5 separate regions of the Homo sapiens genome follow, and regions 2, 3, 4 and 5 are each linked to region 1. Evidence: promoter capture Hi-C in 16 types of primary human blood cells and fetal thymus (Javierre and others, 2016). All regions are on one chromosome and are shown on one strand. The core of a region is centred on a gene start or on the middle of the fragment in contact, and the rest is flanking DNA. Distances in the headings are between cores, read along the strand shown. Region 1 holds the start of XPNPEP2 (X-prolyl aminopeptidase 2). Region 2 has its middle 7.5 kb from the start of BCORL1. Region 3 has its middle 28 kb from the start of BCORL1. Region 4 overlaps UTP14A (UTP14A small subunit processome component). Region 5 has its middle 31 kb from the start of ZDHHC9.

Region 1 (2,747 bases), core at 150-2,649:
TTTTGTCATTCTTGAATGGATGGTTGAAAGTTGCTTTACACTTGATGTGGACATAAGCAGACTGTAAATCCATTAAAAATAGAAACAAAAGGAATGGTGGCCAGGCATGGTGACACGCACCTGTGGTCTCAGCTACTCAGAAGGCTGAGGCTGGAGAATCACTTGAGCCCGGGAGGCTGAGGTTGCAGTGAACCGAGAACATGCCACTGCACTCCACCCTGGGCAACAGAATAAGACCCTGTTTCAAAAATAAAAATAGAAACAAAAGGAATGGGCAGTTTGCCTCTGGGGCCCTCCAGGCTAGGTGAGCATCCATCCCCATTGGGTCTGTTTGTCTCTCTAAAGCATTCCTCTCTGGGAAATCACCTTCCTCGAACCCAAAGAGCAAGGGTTCTGTAGAGCATTTACTAGGAGCTGCCTTGAAGCTGCCCTCTGATTCAGCTGGGCGTGAAGACAAGGCAGGCCTCAGCTTCTCCATTTCCCTCATTGGGAGTTGTGTTGTTTACGAGTGACTCACACTTCAGGGTAACCAAATCCCTGTTCTAGAAGCTACAGCAGAAACAGCATTTCCAGTTCACCAAATTAGTCTTCTCAGAGCGCCCAAACTCCCCTTTCTGTGTCTTCTTCCCTATTCAGTGGCATCCCCCAAACCCTCCAGATAGGGGCATCTTTGGGCTTTCATTTCCTCCCAGGTGTGAGTGGCTCTAACAGCCTCGGTTCCCCAGAGTGCAGGTTCAGAAAATGCAGGGGAATGGGACTCCCCAGATCCCAAGGGAAGAGCTGGCATCACTTCTTCAGAGTGGGCACTCCTGGGGGGACTCATCCCAGCTCAAGAAAGTAACTCTCCAGTCACAACCAACTTTCCCAAGGGGTACAGTGGGACTTGCCAAGCACTACAAGAAGAGAGGACACTGGCTTTTCCAGTCAGCTTGGAGGAAGAGAGGGAGGAAAAAAGGAGGGGGAGGAAGAGCAAAAAGGAGGAGGAGGAGGAAATGGACAAGGAGGAAAAAAAAAAAAAGGAGGAGGATGAGGAGGGAAAAGGAGGAAGAAGAAGAGGAAGTGGAGGAGCCCAGAAAAGGAGGGGAAGGAGGAAAAAGGAGGAGGAGAAGGAAAACGAGGAGGAAGAAGAGGTGGGGAGGAAAAGGAGCAGCAGCAGGAGGCAAATCTCCATCCCCACAGCAAAAGCAGTGCTGGAGCCAGAGCCCAGAGTGTGGGAGCTAATGGGAATCAGCTTGCTGGAGGGAAGGGGACCGAATTAAGGAATGGCTGGGGCTCTGCCGCTGAGAGGGGGCTGGGAAAAGCAGGCTGATTGAGACCAGCTGTTGTGCCTCTGTCTCTGAGATCTTTGGACTCTGCCCAGGATAGCCTCACACCCTATCCTACACGACTAGGAACTTGCACAGTCCGCCTCGGGCAGCCCAAAGCTCCTCTGCCCACCCTGGCTCCCAGAGCCCTCCAAAACAAAAGACCAGAGAAGCACTCTCCACCCAGCAGCCAGACGCCTCCTTCTTGACGCCAGCCCCCACCCTCTGTCTGCTCGAGCCCAGGAAAGGCCTGAAGGAAGAGGCCGGGGAAAGAGCCCTCCCTCTCTCCCTTGTCCCTCCATCCACCCAGCGCCGGCATCTGGAGACCCTATGGCCCGGGCTCACTGGGGCTGCTGCCCCTGGCTGGTCCTCCTCTGTGGTATGTGCATCCTAGCTTCCACTGGAAGGCAGCTCTGACCTCTCCCCTCTGAGCTCAGAAAGGGTTGGAGTGAGGGTTGGGGCCCGAGTCTCTTTTTCTGTTGCTTCCTCTCTCTGACTTGAGGAAGAGACACCTCAGGGCCAGTGTTGGGGGCCCTCATAACTTGGATCGAGTCTGGTTTGGCACCTTTCCATTCCCCCCGTTATAGAAAAAAAATATTCTGACACTCGTTAAAACGGTAAGGAAAACTTAATTTAAGACTACCGCATTGCAATAGAGGAGAGAAATGGGGCTCAACTCTGATTACAGAAAAGACTTCCAGGGATCTGTAGCCAAGGAGCAGAGTGAGGGGGTCAGTGGATGGAAAAGTATTAAGAGGAGATAGCAAGGGTAGGGGGATTCTTGCTAAACCGACTGAACAGCATTCTTGCTGACGGCAGGCCAGAGTGATCAGATATCAAGGGTGTCTAAACTGACTTAGCAAGATTCTTGCTAAGACTGGGTGATGCAAGCCTGGCAAGGGCAGGACAGACACAGAAGGCCAAGGTCAAGGCCAAGTGGAGAAGAGGCTTTGGGGGAGCCTAACTAAACTTTGGTCAGGAAGAGAGTCTTTCCTCTTTGTCATTCCTGCGGCACCCTCTCTGTCCTCAACTAGGTGCCCAGCCCAGCGCTCCCACCCTAGCCTTCCTTTCTTTGTTGTCTGTCAGCAGGGCCTGATCAGTCACTCAATGTCCAGTTCCTGAGCACCTACCCAGTGCCAGGCCTTGTGCCAGGGACCACAGAGTCATTCAGCTGCAGAGCCTGCTCTTGGGAGCCACAGCCCTGGCCTCAGAGAACAGCATATTCTGGTGTCCAGAGAGACATAAGTTGGCTGTGTCCTCATTCTTATGTTAGCATATCAGTGCCAACATTTTGCCAGGGATCTGTTTCTACAGAAATGGGTGTTTGTTTTCTTAAATGAACAGTATGGGTCGCATCTGATCCTTGAGTTTATGAGACCAAGATAAAATCACACAGGACGTTCATGGTGTTGAACCCCAGCCACCCTCCTTGCATCTGTAGCT
Region 2 (2,747 bases), core at 164-2,663, 240 kb after region 1:
TTTGCTGAAAGTTCTTGCTAAATTTTATTCTATTCTCCTTCCCAAAAATACATCTCTTTTTCTTTATGTTCAGGTTGTGGGTTTTATTCCTAGGCTTAAATGAAGCAGGCGCTCTCAAGTTCTGAACTTTAAAAATTCCTTATTTTTTTAAACTACTATGGAGCATCTACTGGGTGCCAGGCACTGTTCTAAGTGCTTAACATACAAGAACTCATGTGATCTTTATAACGTTTGCTTCTTCTTCTTCTTTTTTATATACAGAGATGAGTTTCACCATATTGCCCAGGCTGATCTTGAACTCCTGACTTCAACTGTTCCCCCCGCCTTGGCCACACAAAGCATTGGGATTACGGGCTTCAGCCACCGCGCCTGGCCCTTATAACGTTTTCAGGAGGTACTTATTAGCCCCCATTTCACAAATGAGGGAATTGAGGCTCAGAGAAAAGTATGCAAGGCAATAGCGCTAGGAAGTGGTGGAGCCAGTATTCAAACCATGTCTGTCTAACTTCAGAGATTGTGTGCTTAATCACTGAGTGGGAAGAGAAAGACTAAAAGAGACCCAGACTTTAAAATGAGTCTTTGGCAAGAAGGGAAGTCAAGTCTGGGCCTCAGCTTCTCCACTGTAAAACAAGTCCTACTATGTGCCAAGGTGGGAGGTCTTGGGGGGAGATGAAGGAGGCTGTGATACACAGATGAGAAATACTGAGTCCTTTTATCCAAGGAACTTAAAATCTAGTCGGAGAGATAGACAGGCAGAGTGTGGAAGTGCTAACTAAAGGGACAAGCTAAAAACTGTGGGGGTGCCCCAGAGGAGCAGCCAACTTCCATAGGGAGGGTGTGGGTGTCAGGGAAAGGGGCATGAGAGAATGGTCTTTTGTTTGTTTGTTTGTTGTTTGTTGTTTGAGACAGAGTCTTGCTCTGTCGCCCAGGCTGGAGTGCAGTGGCAAGATCTCAGCTCACTGCAGCCTCTGCCTCCCAGGTTCAAGCAATTCTCCTGCCTCAGCCTCCCAAGTAGCTGGGATTACAGGCGTGTGCCATTACACCTGGCTAAGTTTGGTATTTTAAGTAGAGACGGGGTTTTGCCATGTTGCCCAGGCTGGTCTCGAACTCCTGACCTCAAGTGACCCACCCACCTTGGTCTCCCAAAGTGCTGGGATTACAGGCGTGAGCCGCCACACCCAGATGAGAGAGCTGTCTTGAGTAACGGTTGAGTGAGATTTCAATAAGCTGAGAAAGACATATAAAAAGCTGTGGGAGGGGGCAGGTGGGAGGGGCCAGGTGCGATGGCTCACGCCTATAATCCCAGCACTTTGAGAAGCCAAGGTGGGTGGATCATGTGAAATCAGGAGTTCGAGACCAACCTGGCCAACATGGTGAAACCCTGTCTCTACTAAAAATACAAAAATTAGCTGGGTGTGGTGGCACGTGCCTGTAATCCCAGCTACTAGGGAGGCTGAGGCAGGAGAATCGCTTGAACCCAGGAGAAGGAGGTTGCAGTGAGCCAAGATCACGCCATTGCATTCCAGGCTGGGCGACAAGAGCAAAACTCCATCTCAAAAAAAAGCAAGCAAACAAACAAACAAAAAAACCTGTGGGAGGCCACTATGGTGGCTCACACCTGTAATCTCAGCACTTTAGGAGGCGAAGAGGGAAGGATCACTTGAGGCTAGGAGTTCAAGACCAGCCTGGGCAACACAACGAGAACTCAAGAACTCATTTGTGCAATTTTTTTTTTTGAACAAAGTTTTGCTCTCTTTGCCCAGGCTGGAGCACAATGGCGTGATCTTGGCTCACTGCAACCTCCACCTCCTGAGTTCAAGCGATTCTCCTGCCTCAGCCTCCTGAGTAGCTGGGATTACAGGCACCTGCCACCATGCCTGGCTAATATTTGTATATTTAGTAGAGATGGGGTTTCACCATGTTGACCAGGCTGGTCTTGAACTTCTGACCTCAGGTGATCCACCCGCCTTGGCCTCCCAATGTGCTGGGATTACAGGTGTGAGCCACCACGCCCAGCCTCATCTGTACAATTTTTTTAAGTGTTTAAAAAAAAAAAAAAGCTGAGGAAGCAGAGCTGACAAAATGGATGGCTTATCCAAGGAATGCCGAGGGGGCCAGTCAGGTCAGAAAAGAGGGCTTGTGAGAGACATGGAAGGAAAGGAGGCTAGAACTAGATCAGGGAGGGCCCTAAAGGCTAGGTGAAGGCTCATGGACTTGATTTTGTTGGCAGTGGCCAACCATAGCCAGTTTTTCAGGAGGGCAGATTTCTTAGAATCCCTTCCACTTCTAGCACTGCATGTTTGATTAAGAACTTTGTTGGCTGGGCGCGGTGGCTCACACACCTATAATCCCAGCATTTTGGAAGGCCAAGGCTGGAGGATCACTTGAGCCCAGGAGTTCCAGACCAGCCTAGGCAACATTGCAAGACCACGCCACCACCACCCCCTCTAATGTTAAAAAAAATAATAATTTTTAAGAAAGAACTTTGTTTAGAGCCTAGGAGTCTCAGGGAAGAGGAGAGTGGTCAGCAAGCTGAAGGGCTTGACCCGGTGAGGCCTCTGGGTTGATTTCAGCCCCTTTCCTCATTTTCACTCCTTTGGCTATAAAATCCAAAAAAGTTGTTGGTTGTTTACAGAGTTCAGTTTAACCGGACATGCTGTCTCCCCATCCACACCTGGGGCTCTAAGAGGGCAGAGACCAGGCCATTTGTTCTCTGGGAGCCAGCACTTAGTATCCAGTACTCTGTA
Region 3 (2,747 bases), core at 123-2,622, 220 kb after region 1:
CCCCCCCACGCCCACCGGGGCCTCCCTCCTCCCCGGCAGCCAGCCCACTTTGGGGAGGGGGCTTCGGCGCAGGGGACAGACAAAAGGGCCTGGACGGACCCGGGGGCACCCCTCTGCAGCTCCCCACAACCACGTGGCCCCTCCCTCCTCGGGCAGCCGGCAGCTTCCCCCTCCCCTGCCCAGCCGGAGGTCTGGGGAGTTCGGGCCCCGAAGCATCCTTCCGGGCCTCGCTGGCGCCAATCGCTCCGCCGCGGGTGCTGAGCCTCCGGGTGCTTCGAATACCAAGGAATGCACCGGGCATGGGTGGGGGACATGCTCCGGGGGCGGAGGCAGCTTTTTCGGTTCCCAGGCTGGAGAACGGCCAGCCAAAGGGAGGAGACTCGGCCCCCGCCGTCGGAAGGTTCCCGGTACAGTGGGGTTGACAAGATCTCCAACCTCAGGGAGCTCCAGGTCTGATAGGAGAGACCCAGTCTCTCTCCCTTTAGCAGTTCAAACTCAACAGTAAGGATGAATCCAAAAGTGGGATGAAGGTGCCCTGCAAAAGCAGAGCTGGCCTATGTATTCGTGAACTTCTGGCTGAACCAGATTGTTTTTGGGCCATGTTGTCCAGCACTTAGCGAGCTGCCCTTCCCATCCTACCAACTCCTGCCACCAAAAGTTGGAATGGAAAGTGAGCTCCTTCCCATTCCATACCGTGGTAAAATTTAAACAAGGCCATTGAAGATGAAGGTTATCCAGTAAATCAGCCAAAACATTCACAAAACATTCTCAAAGCAGCCTCTGTAAATGCACTCTTAGCTAGGGTCTAGAGCCATGGCACTAGCCTGGCCCTAGATACCATGTGTATGCATTTTAGAGTCTTCGGAGGTACTGTTCCCCTGAGTCTCCCCCTCGCCACCCGCTGACCACTTAATACCATTTTAGTCAACAAGGCTAAGTCCCCTCAGGGGATATGCCTGTGGCCAGAGCCACACTTGGTGCACTTTAGGCATAGCCCTGGCCAATCCCAGAACAAAAGACCCAAATGCTGGGAGGGGAGGGGTGACAGAAAGAATTCCATCTCTCCAGTATCTTAGGGAGGGATTTGAGCCGAGAAGGGCCTCAGGCTTGACAGGGACCAGCAGAATAGCACTTGCCTGCAACCAAACCTAGTAAGAATGGCCACCACAACTACTATTTATTGAACCCTCACAAACTGCCAAGTACATAGCACACTAATCCCAATAACAGTCTTATATGGTAGGTACTATTATTATCCCCGTTCAACAGATAAGGCAACTATGGTTCAGAGAAGGTAACTTGAAGAGGTCACACAGCTGGTTAGTGGCAGAGCTGGGTTTGGAATCCAGGTCTGGCCAATGCCCAAGTCCAGCTCTCTAATCACTATACTACCCAACCTCTTTCCCACAAAGAGTGATTCTAAAACTCTCCCAGAAGCAACAGAGACAACTGGGTCAGGGCATGGTCTTGCTGGAAACTGGCTATTTGCCAAAATGTAGAGAGGTCAACAGGCGCCCAAAGTCACCCTGCTGGCTTTGTAAATGCCACAGAGACTCCCACATAAAAGTCCAGACTCCTAGATTCCTAACCTAGAATGCAAAGGAGACATCCTATCTGCCCATCCCCACAGACATCATCCCACTTCCGGTTTCTGTCTTCTGGGTAGCAGTGAGGTTTTCAGGATGCCAGGCTAAGGGTGAGCTTCTTGGAGGCAGTGTTGTGGGGATGGGCTTGATAATGGACCCCCGCTGCCCTACCCCCAGTCCTCCCTGGAGGGAGGACAAATAGGCCCATTGATTTGAAACTCTCCCAGAGGGCATTAGAGTAATGACTCTGGACTGTGTGATGCCTACACCCGCTTTGACCTGCTGACTGACCCCTGCCCTGGGAGGTTCCAAAGGCCACAAATCTCAGTTGCTTGTGGGCCATGTGGTTTGTGGCTGTTTGTAGTATTGGAGGGGAGGGGGAAATGAGGGGGGTAAGATACACTGCTTCTCACTGTGCTGGGCTTCCCAAGAGAACTAGCAAGGGGTGGACAGGGCCCCTTCTAAACACTGCCAAGACACACTGCAACTACTGATACGGGCTCCATCATTTATTTTTGAAAGCAGGAGGGCTCCTGGCTCATTTGCATAAATGTTTGCACTGCCTGCTATATTTTGATTTGGAAGAAGGGCACCAGGGCACAGAATATACATAACAGATTTGTAACTGGGCAGCTTGATCCTGTCCCTGGCCAGGCGAGCCAAAGATGGCCCCTCACCCTTTGTGTCTATTTTTGAAAGCCCCTCTTAAGTGCAAAGCCCAGCACCAAGGATGGGTGGCAATAGAAAGACCTCGCCCTGAATGGGGTGCTTCTAAGCCAGGTGTGTAGGTGGATGGGTAGATAAGGCAGCACTTGACTTGAAAAAGGGATGAACGGGCATGGTGGCTCACACCTGTAATCCCAGCACTTTGGGAGACCTGAGGCATGAGGATCACTTGAGCCTAGGAGCTTGAGACCAGCCTGGGCAACAGAGAGAACTTGTCTCTACAAAAAACATGTTTTTGAGAATTAGCTGGACATGGTGGCGCGCACCTATGGTCCCAGCTACTTATGAGGTTGAGGTGGAGGGATCGCTTGAGCCCAGGAGGTCAAGGCTGCAGTAAGCCATGATCGCTCCAATGCACTGTAGCCTGAGCAACAGAGCAAGAGACCCTGTGGAAAGAAAGAAAGAAAAAGACAAGAAAGGAAAGACAAGAAAGAA
Region 4 (2,747 bases), core at 111-2,610, 180 kb after region 1:
GCCAAGGCTCGAAGAGAGAAGAAAATCAAAAGTAAAAAGTAAGGAGGCCCCTGTGAACTGGCCTTGGGTTCCACAGAAGAAAGTCATGTGGTTCATCATGAATTCTTTGGAGAGAACCTTTGATGCAGCAACTAGAGTCATGCAGATGAGGTCCCAAACAGGAGTGACTAGCCTTTTGTTCCCCCCAAACCAACCTCATACAGTTTTGCCAAAAAGATGACTATTCAGTTACTTTCTCTGCCTTCCAAGGCATCACAGAGTGGTTCTGCAGAATCAGCTCTGAATTCCAGAGCTGTTAAGGCCAATAGGGCTTCCTTCCTGCCTTTTTGCCTCTTTGAAACTTGTTCGGCCGGGTGTGGTGGCTATGCTTGTAATCCCAGCACTTTGGGAGGCCGAGGTGGATGGACCACTTGAGCTCAGGAGTTCAAGACCAGCCTGGGCAACATGGCAAAACTGGCTGGGCACGGTGGCTCACACCTGTAATCCCAGCACTTTGGGAGGCTCAGGCAGGTGGATCACTTGAGGTAAGGAATTCAAGACCAGCCTGGCCAACATGGCGAAACCCCATCTCTACTAAAAGTACAAAAATTAGCCAGGCATGGTAATGTGCACCTATAGTCCCAGCTACTTAGGAGGCTGAGGCGGGAGGATCGCTTGAGCCCAGCGGGTGGAGGCTGCAGTGAGCCAAGATCATGTCACTGCACTCCAGCCTGAGTGACAGAGTGAGACCCTGTCTAAAAAAAAAAATGAAACTTGTTCTACCCCTCCCTTGAGTTATAGAGGCAAAGGAGACTCTTTGAGCTGCAGAGGTCCACCCTGAGGACTGTGGGTACCAAGAATCTTGCCAGTCCTGTCAGGTCCCAAACTGACTCCCTATAGCCAACTAGCTCTATGATGCCCATTCCAGCCCCCTGCCTAGGGAACCCATTGGGTAGTATGGGCACTTGTGCCTATGACATCCGTGCTTCAGCTAAATTGCTAAACTCTTCCCTCCTACCCCTACAGGTATCACAAAGTCGTGAAGAAAGGAAAGGCCAAGAAAGCCCTAAAAGAGTTTGAGCAGCTGCGGAAGGTTAATCCAGCTGCAGCACTAGAAGAACTGGAAAAAATTGAAAAGGCCAGAATGATGGTGAGACTACCTCTTGCCCCACCCCCACCCCTTTGAACCAGCTTTCCTTGGAAGGCACTAAAGATGTAAATCTCACTCTGTCCTTTCTTTCTAGGAAAGAATGAGCCTTAAGCACCAAAACAGTGGGAAATGGGCCAAGTCAAAGGCAATTATGGCCAAATATGACCTGGAGGTAAGAGACCCTTGGGGTGAGAGAAGATCTGGAATTGGAGGATGCTAGCAGAAGCAGAGTTGGGGAAGAGCCATGAGGATGGATGGAAAACCAGGAATCTAAAAAGGCATCAGAAAAATCTCTAAGGCAGAAAGGAAAATGACCAGGAACAAGGTGGAAAAGGAGAGATGAAAGGGAAACAGCATTGAAGGCAAGTCCAAAGGGGGAGAGGAGCTTTTTAAAATCTTATTTCACCGTTGATTCCTTGAGGACAAAGAATTTGTCTTCCATTTTATACCATAGCTATTAACCCAGCATTGTATATGCAGTTTAAACAGTAGGTACCAGTAAGAAATACTCACCAAGTCAAATTGAGAGGAGGCAGCTTTATGAAATGGACCAGGAAAGGTGTTATTGCGGTCACTAATGACAGGGCTCTCATGCTGTGACTCTTTCCTCCAGGCTCGCCAAGCTATGCAGGAACAGTTGTCTAAGAACAAAGAACTGACACAGAAACTCCAGGTAGCCTCTGAGAGTGAGGAAGAGGAGGGAGGCACAGAAGATGTGGAAGAACTCCTTGTCCCTGATGTAGTGAATGAAGTGCAGATGAATGCAGATGGGCCGAATCCCTGGATGCTCAGGAGCTGCACCAGTGACACCAAAGAGGCTGCAACCCAGGAGGACCCTGAGCAACTGCCAGAGCTTGAGGCCCATGGAGTTTCTGAAAGTGAGGGAGAAGAAAGACCAGTGGCAGAAGAAGAAATTTTGTTGAGAGAATTTGAGGAAAGGCGATCCCTTAGAAAAAGATCTGAGCTCAGCCAAGATGCTGAGCCAGCAGGCAGTCAAGAAACAAAAGGTGAGCTGTGATCAAATGGAAGAGGGAAATTCCTAGTGCTGTGGACAGACTATGGGAGAAAAAAAAAATGTGTCCACCCACACACAAAACTGCATAGTGATTAGGCGCTGGGGACTTGCAAGAGTGCGTACACTGGATCCCTGAAGAGAAATTAGATTCATAACTATTTTTCTTCGAAGACATTTAATAAGCAGTCATCTGCATGGCCGTGCAACGTGGTTCAGGCACATTTTCTGTTCTTGGGGGCTTACAGCCTTCAGAAACCCATAATAACTAAACCATACTCGAAGTCAGGGTATGAGTTAGCGTTCCTGGTACCTACACACCAGGGAGAAGTACGTATGGTAGAATGGCAAATCTGAAAGTCCATTCACACCTGTAGACACAGATAGGTCAATTTTGAGACATTAGGAAACATTGTCTAGTTGCTGGATTTTTTTGTTTTGTTGGTTAAGTAGGAGTGGCATTTTTAGCACTTCTTAATGCTAGTTGATGTGTGTATACATGGGGTGAGACTTTACGGAATGAATGACTCCACAGGGCCACATGGCAAATTAGAATTGTGACTCCATACTCAGGCTCTATTTGTATGTTATATTTTCTACCTGTTA
Region 5 (2,747 bases), core at 68-2,567, 140 kb after region 1:
GGCGGATCACTTGAGGTCAGGAGTTCAAGACCAGCCAGGCTGGTATGGTGAGACCCTGTCTCTACTAAAAATAGAAAAATTAGCTGGGCATGGCAGCGTGTGCCTGTAATCCCAGCTACTTGGAAGGTTGAGGCATGAGAATCGCTTGAACTCAGGAGGTGAAGGTTGCAGTGAGCCAAGATCATGCCACTGCACTCCAGCCTAGGCGACACAGTGAGACTCCATCTCAAGAAAAAAAAAATCTAACAATTATTATTATTATTGCTGCACTTTATACACATAATCAGGCCAAGTATAATAAAGCAAATCAGTCTTACCATGATTTGTCTTTAGTAAAAATGGGAGACTGGAGAGAGAAAAATTGTTTCAAGAACGATGGTACGCCTGTTATTAAATTATAGTCTCATTCGTTGTTTTTAAGGGTTTTTTTTCCTGCAATTTAGACTAACCGTGCTTATTCCTGTGAACCAACCAGTGATCTCTGGCTGCTGCTCAGAAGAAACAAGAGGGATGGGTAATGTAAAAATCTGGGTCAGTATTCTAATTCTGGGCACATATTAGAATCAGCTAGCGACACCATATCAGCTTGGTTTCAACAATTGCCCAGTTCGTGGAAAGCTTTCTTATTCAGTTCACTTGGAATAATTTTACTTACTTTGTTTTACTGTTGTGGAAAATATTGCTGCTGTACTCTTTGTGTAGGAATGCAGGATAAGCTTACTCAACATTTTCTTAAATTGAATACTTACTACAGATATCAGCTTTTGTCAGAACTCAAGAGTTATGGATGGCCCTCACCATACTTACACTTTCTGACTGAGCTCCTCTCTACCCTGAATACAAGAGACCCTAATAGGTAGGCAGGAGTATCATTGCCCAATTCAGCCTGAAGAAGTTACGGAAGATGGATCTTTGTCCCTCTATAACCCTTAAGATTAAGGGTTCCTGGCCAGATGCGGAGGCTCACACCTGTAATCCCAGCACTTTCGGAGGCCGAGGCGGGTGAATCACCTGAGGTCACGAGTTTGACACCAGCCTGGCCAACATGGCAAAACCCCATCTCTACTAAAAATACAAAAATTAGCCAGGCATGGTGGCACGCACCTGTAGTCCCAGCTACCTGGCAGGCTGAGGCAGGAGAATCGCTTGAACTCGGGAGGGGAAGGTTGCAGAGGGCCAAGATCGCGCCACTGCACTCCAGCCTGGGTGACAGAGCAAGCCTCCATCTCAAAAAAATAAATAAATAAATAAATAAAATAATAATAATAATAAAAGATTAAGGATTCCTTTGTAAAACGCAGGGGAGAAATATGTCAGAGGTGTTCAAACCAGAGTGCCTCCATCCTGAATAGGGGCTGGGTAAAATGAGGCTGAGACCTACTGGGCTGCATTCCCAGGAGGTTAAGCATTCTAAGTCACAGGATGAGATAGGAGGTTGGCACAAGATACAGGTCACAAAGACCTTGCTGATAAAACAACATGTGGTAAAGAAGCAGACCAAATCCCACCCAAACGAAGATGGTGAGGAAAGTAACCTCTGGTCATCCTCACTGCTCATTATATGCTAATTATAATACATTAGTATGCTAAAAGACACTCCCACCAGCACCATGACAGTTTACAAATGCCAAGGCAATGTCAGGAAGTTACCATTTATGGTCTAAAAGGTGGAGGAACCGTCCGTTCCAGGAGTTGCCCACCACTTTCCCGGAAAACTCATGAAAAACCCGCCACTTGTTTAGCATGTAGTCAAGAAATAACCACAAAAATAGCCAACCAGCAGCCCTCAGGGCTGCTCTGCCTATGGAGTAGCCATTCTTTTATTCCTTTACTTTAATAAATTTGCTCTCACTTGGAAAAAAATCATACATTACCACACCCACATTGGGGAGAGACCCATCCTATGTGAAATCTGTGGACAAGCTTTTTCTACCAAAGGCAACGTAAAGACACTTCTCAGGGTTCATGGAACCAACTCATCCATAAGTACATACCCCATTAGTCAAAAGAAATTTGCCAGTGTGGTCATGTTGCAACAACATATTTGGATGAACATGGGCACTCAGATTCCCAGCATGTCCCCGCCAGAGAATCCCTGTGATTTTAGGGGTCCTGAGCCAATGATGGTCAGTGAGAATGGTAATACAAGTGCCATCTGCCATGATGATGTTGAAAGAAGACACCACTGTGGATAAAGTCAGCTCCCAGGATGCCCCCAGTAGCTACTCAAAGGTCCTCACACCTCTTCTTAGCATCCACTTAATATAACCCACCCTAGGGTTTGCCACAAAGGCTTCCCTAGCAGTCACCAGGAAAGTGGGTCCTGTTCCTTCTGGCCTGCAGAGGCAGAGCAGCTGAAAAACGATTCAGTGGAGAGCAACAGTTTAATGACTCATTCTCACTGATGGGACACCAGGACTATTAGCCAAACTCCAGATGCTGTGGAAACCACATCCTTCCAGGCACGCTCCCTAGCAACTAGCCAAGCAGAAAGCATTATGACAAAGTCTCCAGATGCTGGGAGCAAAGCTGAGCACCCCAAGAACAGCCACACTGAGATGGGCTGTCTCCCATCAACGTTTTTCTGAGCCCAGTCAACATATGTCAAAGTTCAAGTTTTAACAGGTTTGGTGGCTAGCGCTTGTAATTCCAGCTACTAATGAGGCTGGGGCAGGAGGATCACTTGAGCCCAGGAGTTCAAGGTTGTGGTAAACTATGACTGTGCCACTGCACTCCAGCCTGTGCGA

What was found. Contacts are between HindIII fragments. The CHiCAGO score rates a contact against its expected background, and 5 or more counts as called.
Region 2: a fragment that was not itself captured here is called in contact with the fragment with the promoter of XPNPEP2 in region 1 in 3 of 17 cell types (activated CD4 T cells, non-activated CD4 T cells and neutrophils); the score reaches 9.0 in activated CD4 T cells.
Region 3: a contact is called between a fragment that was not itself captured here and the fragment with the promoter of XPNPEP2 in region 1, in 1 of 17 cell types (activated CD4 T cells). The highest score is 5.2, in activated CD4 T cells.
Region 4: a contact is called between a fragment that was not itself captured here and the fragment with the promoter of XPNPEP2 in region 1, in 2 of 17 cell types (M0 macrophages and M1 macrophages). The highest score is 6.2, in M0 macrophages.
Region 5: a fragment that was not itself captured here is called in contact with the fragment with the promoter of XPNPEP2 in region 1 in 5 of 17 cell types (activated CD4 T cells, non-activated CD4 T cells, total CD8 T cells and 2 more); the score reaches 7.5 in activated CD4 T cells.

The regions. Positions count from the first base shown.
Region 1 is chrX:129,737,580-129,740,326 of GRCh38, forward strand. It overlaps XPNPEP2 (X-prolyl aminopeptidase 2), which reads left to right and starts at 1,400. Exons shown (of 21, transcript NM_003399.6): 1 at 1,400-1,683. The coding sequence starts at 1,635. RefSeq lists an enhancer at 630-679. The HindIII fragment of the contact is 11,300 bases long and covers 1-2,747 here.
Region 2 is chrX:129,973,731-129,976,477 of GRCh38, forward strand. No RefSeq gene overlaps it. Among named protein-coding and RNA genes, the nearest start is that of BCORL1, 7.5 kb to the right of the region's middle. The HindIII fragment of the contact is 3,364 bases long and covers 1-2,747 here.
Region 3 is chrX:129,953,106-129,955,852 of GRCh38, forward strand. No RefSeq gene overlaps it. Among named protein-coding and RNA genes, the nearest start is that of BCORL1, 28 kb to the right of the region's middle. RefSeq lists an enhancer at 1-473. The HindIII fragment of the contact is 4,564 bases long and covers 1-2,747 here.
Region 4 is chrX:129,919,452-129,922,198 of GRCh38, forward strand. UTP14A (UTP14A small subunit processome component) reads left to right here. Exons shown (of 15, transcript NM_006649.4): 8 at 1-38; 9 at 1,006-1,129; 10 at 1,224-1,301; 11 at 1,743-2,136. The region is part of intron 2 of LOC105373335 (a long non-coding RNA gene); the gene reads right to left. Among named protein-coding and RNA genes, the nearest start is that of UTP14A, 15 kb to the left of the region's middle. The HindIII fragment of the contact is 8,896 bases long and covers 1-2,747 here.
Region 5 is chrX:129,873,451-129,876,197 of GRCh38, forward strand. It overlaps the pseudogene SALL4P2. Among named protein-coding and RNA genes, the nearest start is that of ZDHHC9, 31 kb to the left of the region's middle. The HindIII fragment of the contact is 1,207 bases long and covers 715-1,921 here.